2 separate regions of the Homo sapiens genome follow, and region 2 is linked to region 1. Evidence: promoter capture Hi-C in 16 types of primary human blood cells and fetal thymus (Javierre and others, 2016). All regions are on one chromosome and are shown on one strand. The core of a region is centred on a gene start or on the middle of the fragment in contact, and the rest is flanking DNA. Distances in the headings are between cores, read along the strand shown.

Region 1 (4,855 bases), core at 1,283-3,782:
GTTACTCCAGCCTGGAGTGATTCTTCAAAATAAATTTTGAATGCAATAAAATTAATTTATGCAAAATTTTGTGTGTTTATATATATTTTCCCTACTAAGACATTTATAGCTTTCATCAGTTTCTCAGAGATATGTGTGACCTCTCTCCCCCTTAAAAAAATGTAAAAACAATTTATGTCTATACCTGAATAAAGGAACCCAAGCAAGAATATTCAACAATTACATAGGATGGGATGGGATAGGATAAAAAGAAGTGGAGTAGAGTGGAGTGGAGTGAAGTGAAAAGAAACAGAATTTACCAACTCAAATGCACTCTCAATAAAATGTACAAGGCAAAATAGTAACAGCAAATGGTGCCAGTCTTTCACTCTTTTTCTTTAAATGACAGTGAGAACCCTCTCCTTTTCCATCGGGTTTACCCCAAAGCTAAGAGATGACCCTTATATAAACAGCCAATTGAAATATGCTTCTCAGAACAAGAGAAAAGTTTTTCTTTTTGAGGAGCTGGTATGCCTCTATTGTTAGACATGGGATCTTTATTACTTATTATGCCTCCTTTTGGATCTTAGTACTCAGAAAGTTCGGGAATATATTTTGTATTTATTTTCAGCAACTCCCCCCAAGCCTTGAACTTTCAGGTTTTCTGTCCCCCATCCTGCACTCTTTCTCATGTTGTTTTTGTACTTTGGTCCTTGTTTTTAATGGTTTTGCTATAACTGTGTCCTTTATAAGTCATCATAAATTTCCCTTTAAAAATAGATGTCGCTTACATAAAGGAAAAAAGGAACGGGGGGAAGGAAGGGAGGAAGGAAGGAAGGAAGGAAAGAAGAAAGGAAGGAAGGAAGGAAGGAAGGAAGGAAGGAAGGAAGGAAGGAAGGAAGGAAGGAAAAACAAACAAACAAAACTTTGTGAAGTATGTCCTTTAAATGAGGTCTTATAAATTTGGCAGCCTTAATGGGGTAAAATCCATAGTTCATAATTTTTTAACCTGAATGAAACTATTTTACAACCTTAAACAAACAAAAACACATTTGCTCCAAGTTTAAATTTTACTATTTTTGTTCTGGTAAATTTTCTCATTCTAGTTCTCTAAATACTATCGATACAGTATTCTCTAAATACTGGTTAGGGCGGTGGGGTAGGGGGAGGACAAATCCATCCCCAGCTACCACTCCATCAGCAGCCAGTATGTCAGATCCCTCTGTTGGTCTTCAACACTGGATCTTTGCAGCCATGCTCCATGCTCCTGCTAGCTCCCCAACCTTCTGTCCTCCCCAGTTACCTGCTCAGAGGGCATACTGCCTCTCCTGCTGCCTTTCCCGATCGGCATTATTTACCCTTATTTATTGTTTCATTAGAAGCTTTCTCTGATTTTCACGAAAGGGAGTATGTAGCCCATCCAACATTGAATTCCTTTACGGAGAAGCTCTACAGCCCAAGGGATCCAGCATTAGGATCATTGAAATTTCGCGTTCTGAGTTCCAGCGGGCTTTTCTTTAACATCATTGTTTTACTCACTACTTCCCCTCCCACGTCCTCCTTTTCCAGGCCAGCTCTGGCACACAGCGGGGGACTAACAAATGTTCGTTGAATAATCAGGAAAGTCATTTAAAAATGGTTTTTAAATTTTTGATTAGTTTCCTACATCTGGAAAGTGGGAAATTTGTATGCAAACCATGAGATCATTTCACTTAAACCTTAGTGATGAGTTTCTTTAACTTCTCTCTTAAAATGAAATTCCATTCTGTGTATGTTTGATTGTATGTGTGTTATGCATGTGTGTGTATGTGTTTGATGCATGTGTGTGTCCTTGTTCATAACGATTTACCCTTTCCTGAATTTAGCCAAACAGACCTAAATGTGTGTTACTAATCGTTTTAATTATTACTCTTCTACCAATTCAGTCTGGAGTTAAAAGAGCATAAAGAGGCCAATTCAATTATGTCACTCTTCCCCCTGCCCACTCACACCCACACCTATTCATTTCTATTCAACCATCTGCTAGGCTTAACTGACTTGGTCTTTTATATCCCATAAATGGCACCTTGGTGGAATGCCTCAGACTGGACAAGGTACCTCCCAGTACTTGTGCACCAGGTGGCAGGGACAGAGGTCCCATACCTTCTCTTACTCTGAGTTAAACATAGCAGGACAACATTACCTCTTTGGATCCTGATCACAATCCTCCAGATGCCCAGTCCCAAAATGATGCCAGTCAGTAGTCCACACACGACAGCCACCAGCACCCTAAGGTTCCAGGCACGGCAGGAAGCCATGGTGAAGCCAAACCACAAATCCACTCCTGGGTGAGAAATAACTAGCTTCTTTTCTTCTTGAGCTAAAAAGTTTAATCGGAAACTATTCTAAAACAGAAAAACAAGTCCTCCCCTCAGTGATCTGTCAGATGGATGTCTTTGTATTTTAGGACTTTTGAGGCTAATCCAGTAGGATGCAGTTTGAATCTCCTAATAAAAGGTGCATACTCTGCTTTCAATTTCCTCATCCTTCACTCAAGGAGAACATGAAAAAAGTGATTAGAGTTATGGGAATAGGGAGATAACTCAGGGCAATAAAGAAGAAGGGGAGGGACTAGCCACAAGGGTCAAAGAGTGAATGCCCAGACAAGCCACAGAGTGAAGGAAGGGAACAAAATAGAAGAAACCAAAGAGGAAATCACAAAGGCAGTGGTTGCCAGTAGTCACCTATGGCTCGGCTTCCTGTATTTTTGTCTTGGGAGGGTACAGCAGAGATAGACTGGCAGGTGCTTCAGACCACACAAAACACTCTCTCGGGGAAATGAACTAGGTTGTCAATAAGAGGATAAATGGCAATCACCACACATGGTTTTTAGCGCTTGCATTTCTTTAAGGAGCCTACATTTTGACAGATGCAGTTGGTGAGTGTGCATACTGGCACAGGCTGGGTCTTGACAAGCACTAAAGCCCAGCATGATAACCCACCTGCTATGGGCTGAATTGTGTCCCCTCCAACATTCATATGTTGGAGTCCTAACCTTCGGTACCTCAGAATGAGGCCTCACATGGAGATGTGGTTACTGCAGAGGTGATCGAGTTAAAACGAGTTTGTTAGGGTGGTCACTAATCAATATGGCTGGTGTCCTCATAAGAAGAAGAAATCTGAACACAGACATGAATACAGAAAGATGATCTGAAGAGACAGAGAGAGAAGACGGCCATCTACAAGAGAGAGTCCTCAGAAGGAACTGGCTCTGCTGACACCTTGACTTGACTTCTAGCCACCCAAACTGTAAGACAACAAATTTATGTTGTTTAAGCCACCCAGTTTGTGGTACTTTATTAGAGCAGCCCTGGGAAACTAATACATCATCAGAGTAACTACAAACTGGTGTCTCTCTATAGATGCAGCTCTGACCCTCTCCTGCCCAGGCTCCCATGTTCTCCTTCCCTACCCTCTACCCTTACAGGGAAGAACAGATACATGAACATTCACCTCCTCAATCACAGTTTTGTTTTGGTAGAGAGAACAGATGCTCTGGTCTTCTCTGGACACTCCCTTGCTTCATCAAATCCATATTAAATGCCTTTAATGTGTTTGAATTGGTACAAGACATGAACAGGGTCCTCAAAGAACTCATAATTTCTCAGGGGTGAGATACCTAGATATAGCCACCTATAAGGCAAGTCATAACTGCTAAAATAAAAGATCATCATATTTAATTATTATGGAGTGCAGGTGCTCCTTGACTTACAATAAGATTACATCCCAATAAATCCACCTTAAGTTAAAAAATATCTTAAGTCAAAACGCATTAAATATACACCTAACCTGCTGAACATCCTTGCTTAGGCTAGCCTACCTTAAATGTGCCCAAAACACATACAATAGCATAAAATTGGGCAAAATCATCTATCACAAAGCCTATTTTATAATAAAGTGGCGAATATCCCATGTGATATATTGAATACTGTAGTGAAAGTGAAAAACAGAATGGTTGTATGGGTACCCCAAACATGGTTTCTACTGAATGCATATTGCTTTTGCACCATGGTGAAGTTGAAAAATCAGAAGTGAAAAAAACCATCATAAATTGGAAACCTATGTACTAGCCCGTTACTACCTACATACCAGCCCATTAATTCCTTCAGGAAGTATTCAGCAAGGCTTTACCAAAAAAGGCTTTACACTTAAACTGACCTTTAGTTAACCCCCAAACACTATGGGGGTTTCCAATTCTCTGTGACATTCACTTTATAAATGTTTTGCTATAAACATAAGGCCCTAACTTTACCCCTCCCAAGAATTTCAGAAAAACAAATTGAGGTAGCACAAAATGGAAGAACTTAGAAGTACTGCTGCAGAAGTACAACACAAATGAATGCAAACCCATTACCTCATTTACTGGGAATAGATCTTTAAAAATCTGTTTCTGATATGTCTGCATACACATGCACAGAAAATGTCTGGAAAGGTACATGAAAAAGTTCCTCTTGGGAATCTGAGGAATCTGAGGTAGGAGAGAGTTTTAAAATTTTATATCCCTTTTATAGTTTGAAGTTTTAGCCTTGTGTATTCTTTCTATTATTATAAATAAATATATATAACTTTTTCAATAATAAAACAATGGTTTTCAATAAATAATAAATAAATCTAAGAAAAGGAATTAACACCTATCATATGTGTAGTGTATACCAAGGATGGTGCTTTATACTTTACACATGTTTATCTCATTCACTCTGTGTAAAAGCCCCAGGTAACATAATGTGTTTGCCCTTTGCATGAATGAGGAAATGAGACTGAAACTGGTATTATTCTACACAGGAGCTTTATGGTTAAGTACCTTTGGATGAAGCCAGGTAACACAAAGTTAAACAGT
Region 2 (4,855 bases), core at 1,336-3,835, 750 kb after region 1:
GGCTAAATCAAGCTAATTAGCGTATTTGTTACCTTACATACTTATCATTTTTTTGTGGTGAGAACATCTAAAACCTACTCTTTTAGTACTCACCATCCTACTTCTAATGAGAACGGACATGTATTGTGCCAGGCACTATGATAAGGACTTTTTGTATGGATTGTTTTTTATTAATCTTCAGAACAACCCTATTGTGAGGGAGGCTCTAATATTATCCCCATTCTACAGATGAAGAAAATGAGACTTGTAGGGAGGTTAAATTGCTTGCTCAAGTCACACTAGACAGAAGTTGGAAAGCCGGGATTCAGCTGCAAAAACTGAACTCCAGAGTCTGAATTTCTCGCTCTGCACTGCCCTGCCCTGCCTCTCATAGTTTTCCACTGTCTCGTTCCTATTGGTGCTTCGGTACTAGAGAGTGTACATGCTGTCAGTCATTCCACCTGCCCTCTGCCACCTGCACTGTTTACTGCAATCTCTTGCTGGGGGTAATAGGGAACAGGCAGTAGGGAAGACATTATCCCTGTCTTAAAGAAGGCTACCTTGGGCAAACAGACAAGATACAGAAGAACGCAGATCACAGAGAGTACAAAATCAACTGCAGAGAGTGGGAGGAAGGAATGGAGACAATGATAAACAATGAAAGCATTAGGAACCTGAGGACAAGCCCAGGAGGAGCACCATCACAATGCTAGGTGTAAAGGCAGCTCTGTATGCCATGAACTAGGAGGCACTTTCAGGAATACACACACATCTGTGATAATACAAGGCATCACATGCTGAGTGGCTTTTTGGATACTTCTCCCTAGAGGGACAGGGCAGCCAGGGGAAGGCATCATGGCTGTGGAAGGCCCAGGTAGGCTTTGGAGGATTAAGGGGACATCTACCTGAAACTGTTAGTCTGACAAAGACCTAAAGTCTTAATCTGTTGGAAGACAGGTAATTTTTTTTGGGAGGGCGGGGGTGTATTAACAATCAAAATGGAAAGTATGGAAAAGAGGAAACTTTGATTTAAGGGATCTTTTCTAAATAATCAAGAACCCCAATTCAGAGTGGTGGTGGGAGCAGGGGGTGGGGGAGGAAAACAAAAAGAAAAGTGAGAAAAATGAGTAGACTCTCTAGCACAGCAGTGTATTCACAGTAATTAACTTTTTAAAAGCTCCTTCTTGATAGATGTCATCTGAGTAAACGGCATAAAGAAAACTTCATTTGAGTAGGTATTTTTAATAAGAAAAATTAAAAGAGTGATAGGAGAGGCACAATATTCACGGTATTAAATGAACATCCATTGTCCAAAGGTTCTTACTAGAAAGCTCCCTAACAATACAGTACTGCAGAAGTCAAAACACATTATTTAGGCAGTAATTATCCTGGTACAAATTTACATGTGCTGTACTTGTTGTCACTCCCCTGTCAGTTCCAGTTTCTTCTTCCAGGTCTAGCCTGAGCATCTTTTCAAGTCTCCACCTGGCCCTTTCATAGCAGCATGGACAGTGTCTTTTCTAGCCCAGAATCATGGGCACCTCCTTTGTTCTCAAGATGAAAATATTCTCCTTGTAGCTGCCTAACTACCCAAGTTCTGTGCCTGTGGACCCTCAGACTGGCCTTTTACTTGTTCTGGAACCTCACCTTTCAGAGACCCTTTTTCTCAGTTACTTTGCTCCTTTTTCTGCTCTTAAAAGAGTGAGATTTGCCTCAATTCCAGTCCTTGTGCTCAATTTGAGGATTTCAGTACCGCTTTTTAGAATCCTGATTCTCTGCTAAAAGCTACCAAGCTCCTTATAATTAATGGGTCATTTGACTATTTCCATCTTATTTCACTTCTCCTGACCTCTGGGGGGCCTAGTAAGATTAATCGTTCAGGTGATGAAGAGTAATGACTAACAGTATACCATTTTTACCATATATTCCTCTGACACCAAGCTAAAGCCTCCTTCTTAACTTCCTGCCCTAATTCTTATTTCACAATGAAGGAAAATAGTATTAACCCAAATTGCTGGGTCTGGACCCATTTATGGTATCTCTAAAGGATCTCAGTGATGATGACAGGATCTTCAGTAACAAGGACATAAAGCAGACATAGATGTACACTCATATTCAACTAGCAGATGCCAAAAAAAGTGTTACTGTTCTACTGATCTTGCTGACTAAGTCAAATGAATTGTACATTACATTATGGCTATGGTATGCTGTAGCTGTAATTTTTAGAAAACCTTTGACTTGTGAAATACAAGGAAGCAGCATACACAGAATAAAAAAGACGGGTCACAGCTATTTTTATGAGTGCTCTTAAAATTTAGACTAAACAGTGAAAAGTCCCATAGAAAAAGCAGGGAGGAAAGCAAGGAAACATAAATTATAGGCCTGATACCAAAATTTATCTCAAATAAAGAAGCTTTCCAATAAATTCCATGTAATTACTCTGCAAACTGCTAGAAATCCATGGTTATTTAACCATGAACACAGCTACTATCAACGCAACACAGTTAAAATTATGTATTAGACAAGAATTGCTAAAAGATAAAATGGGATATAATCATAATCAGGCTATCAAAGTCTAGCTGTGAGAGCAGATATAAAAATAAATAAAGGAGTGTGATGTATGCAGTTTTCTGCTTAGTAATCAACATATTAAATCAGGAAGAAAAAGTAATGTATTAAACTAGCTCTGGAATAATGAGAACAAATACAGGAATTTAAGCCCATCAAAATGAAGTTACATACTTAGGACTAGGGTGACTGTTACACTGTTTCAAACATCTTAAGACCAAACAAGCTTTGGTATCATCATACTATTTGGTTGTTACTGGGAGAATACTGTAAGTATGATCAGACTGATCTGTGCAAGAATACAGGCAGGTTTTGGGGAAAAAAGAACTGACAAATAGCAAGTACAGTGCCTTGCACATAGTAGCTGTCACTGTATTTGTCTCATCAAGGTCTGAAATGAATTAAATGTCAGCTGAACTGCATAGCACTATGGATGGACCCATTTATAAAAACCAGGCAACTTAGTGGTTTCCATACTCTTATTTCAAATTGGAGTTTCAAACAAAACACAATGTCTTATGAAAACAGTTTTGTCATTTAGGACTTTTCTGTGGACTGGGAGAGAACATTTGAAGGCAGAGAATCTCCCATCTATGTTTGACGGTTAGCAAGTGACTGGCTTTATTAATGATGGAAACATCAAAGCAGTGACTAAGCCAGTGAATTGGGGGACTTCATCAGGATGAAGCAAAAGGCTGACAGAAGAAGCACAAGGTGACAGCCCAAACCAGACGCTTTTCCAGAGAAAGACAAATTTGCCACTGATGTTTCAACTGTCTATCCTCTGGAGTAATGGTTCTTAAAGTGTGGCCCCCTTTGAGAGTGAAGAAGATATCTTCATAATAACACAACCTTTTTCTCTCTCATTCTCTCAGAAGTGTATATGGAGTTTTCCAGAGGCTCCATGACGTGTGATGATTTCTCTGACAGCTAATGGAATGTGTGAAACAGATCTGAGGATACAGCTGTCTTCAATTAAGCCAGACATTAGTTGCAGAAATGTAAAACAATGCAACTCTTCTCACTAAATAATTTTGTAAAAGTATTTTTTCATAAAAATATGTTATTTAGCAGATGATGGATTTATTATTATTTATTATTTTTAACAAATGATTTTTTTTAAATTTTATTTTTGAGACAGAGTCTTGCTGTGTCGCCCAGGCTGGAGTGCAGTGGTGTGATCTCAGCTCATTGCAACCTCTGCCTCACGGGTTCAAGCAATTCTCCTGCCTCAGCCTCCCAAGTAGCTGGGACCACAGGCACGTGCCACCATGCCCAGCTAATTTTTTGTATTTTTAGTGGAGACAGGGTTTCACCATGTTAGCCAGGATGGTCTCGATCTCCTCACCTCATGATCCGCCTGCCTCAGCCTCCCAAAGTGCTGGGATTATAGGTGTGAGCCACTGCATCTGGCACTAATGAGTATTTTTAAAATCTTAGTTTGAATTTCTAATACAGTAAAGAGATAGATACAGCCCATACACTCAAAAGCTCTTTAGGGTCCTCAAAATTTTTTGAGTGTAAAGGGGTCATGAGACCTAAAAGGTTACGAACTACTGCTCTGGAGCCTTTACTGAATTGTGCTGGAACTATCTCCTTTTTCTTTCCTAATTAGCCTATAAACACTTTGAGAATAGGATCCTCTATCCCCTGTTCATCTCAGGATAGCCTTAGTACTAATGATTGTCTTTGTTGTTTGTATATTAAATGAATAAAAGTCTTGCCATATTCATAACATCAGAAACATTAAATTCAAGATTTACATAGTGAACATAGTGAAAAATAGGTTTCCTTAAAGAGACAGATGAGAAGCTAAGCTGACTCTGAAGTTATTCTCTATTTACAGGCTGATTTCTGAAACTAATAGAAACAATACAGTACCATTAATGGCTTGTGGAATTCGTTTTATTGCTTGATGATCACCCTAAGTTTATTTCTATGGACCAAGCATCTGAAAAACTGCAAAACAATCTGTGAAAACAGAAACATAATTGATGTTTTAGGGTGGTCAGATTATAGATATTTCCTTTCCACTGTCACTGCTGTTGATACAATGTTGCTTATGTAATAAACAAACATATTTGTCCAGTAGATCTCTGGACTCTGAGGAAAACATAAAATAGTCACTCCTTTGTTAGCAGAGTTGATAAAGCCAAAGGAGACTGATGGGCTAGGATGTGGACGTTTACCACCTAACCCTGTTCTCCTCAAACAAGCAAGCACATACAGTTCTAATGCAGGGATCTGAAGAAAGGAGAGAAGGACCTGTTCCAACAGTGTTGATTCTTTCTAGAGGCTCTGTAGCTAT

The links. Contacts are between HindIII fragments. The CHiCAGO score rates a contact against its expected background, and 5 or more counts as called.
Region 2: a fragment that was not itself captured here is called in contact with the fragment with the promoter of ADGRG7 in region 1 in 1 of 17 cell types (total B cells); the score reaches 5.3 in total B cells.

The regions. Positions count from the first base shown.
Region 1 is chr3:100,607,278-100,612,132 of GRCh38, reverse strand. It overlaps ADGRG7 (adhesion G protein-coupled receptor G7), which reads right to left and starts at 2,532. Exons shown (of 16, transcript NM_032787.3): 1 at 2,162-2,532. The coding sequence starts at 2,276. The HindIII fragment of the contact is 7,171 bases long and covers 1,364-4,855 here.
Region 2 is chr3:99,857,291-99,862,145 of GRCh38, reverse strand. All of the region lies in intron 1 of CMSS1 (cms1 ribosomal small subunit homolog), which reads right to left. The region is part of intron 4 of FILIP1L (filamin A interacting protein 1 like); the gene reads left to right. The region is part of intron 1 of LOC105374010 (a long non-coding RNA gene); the gene reads right to left. Among named protein-coding and RNA genes, the nearest start is that of HP09053, 36 kb to the right of the region's middle. The HindIII fragment of the contact is 381 bases long and covers 2,395-2,775 here.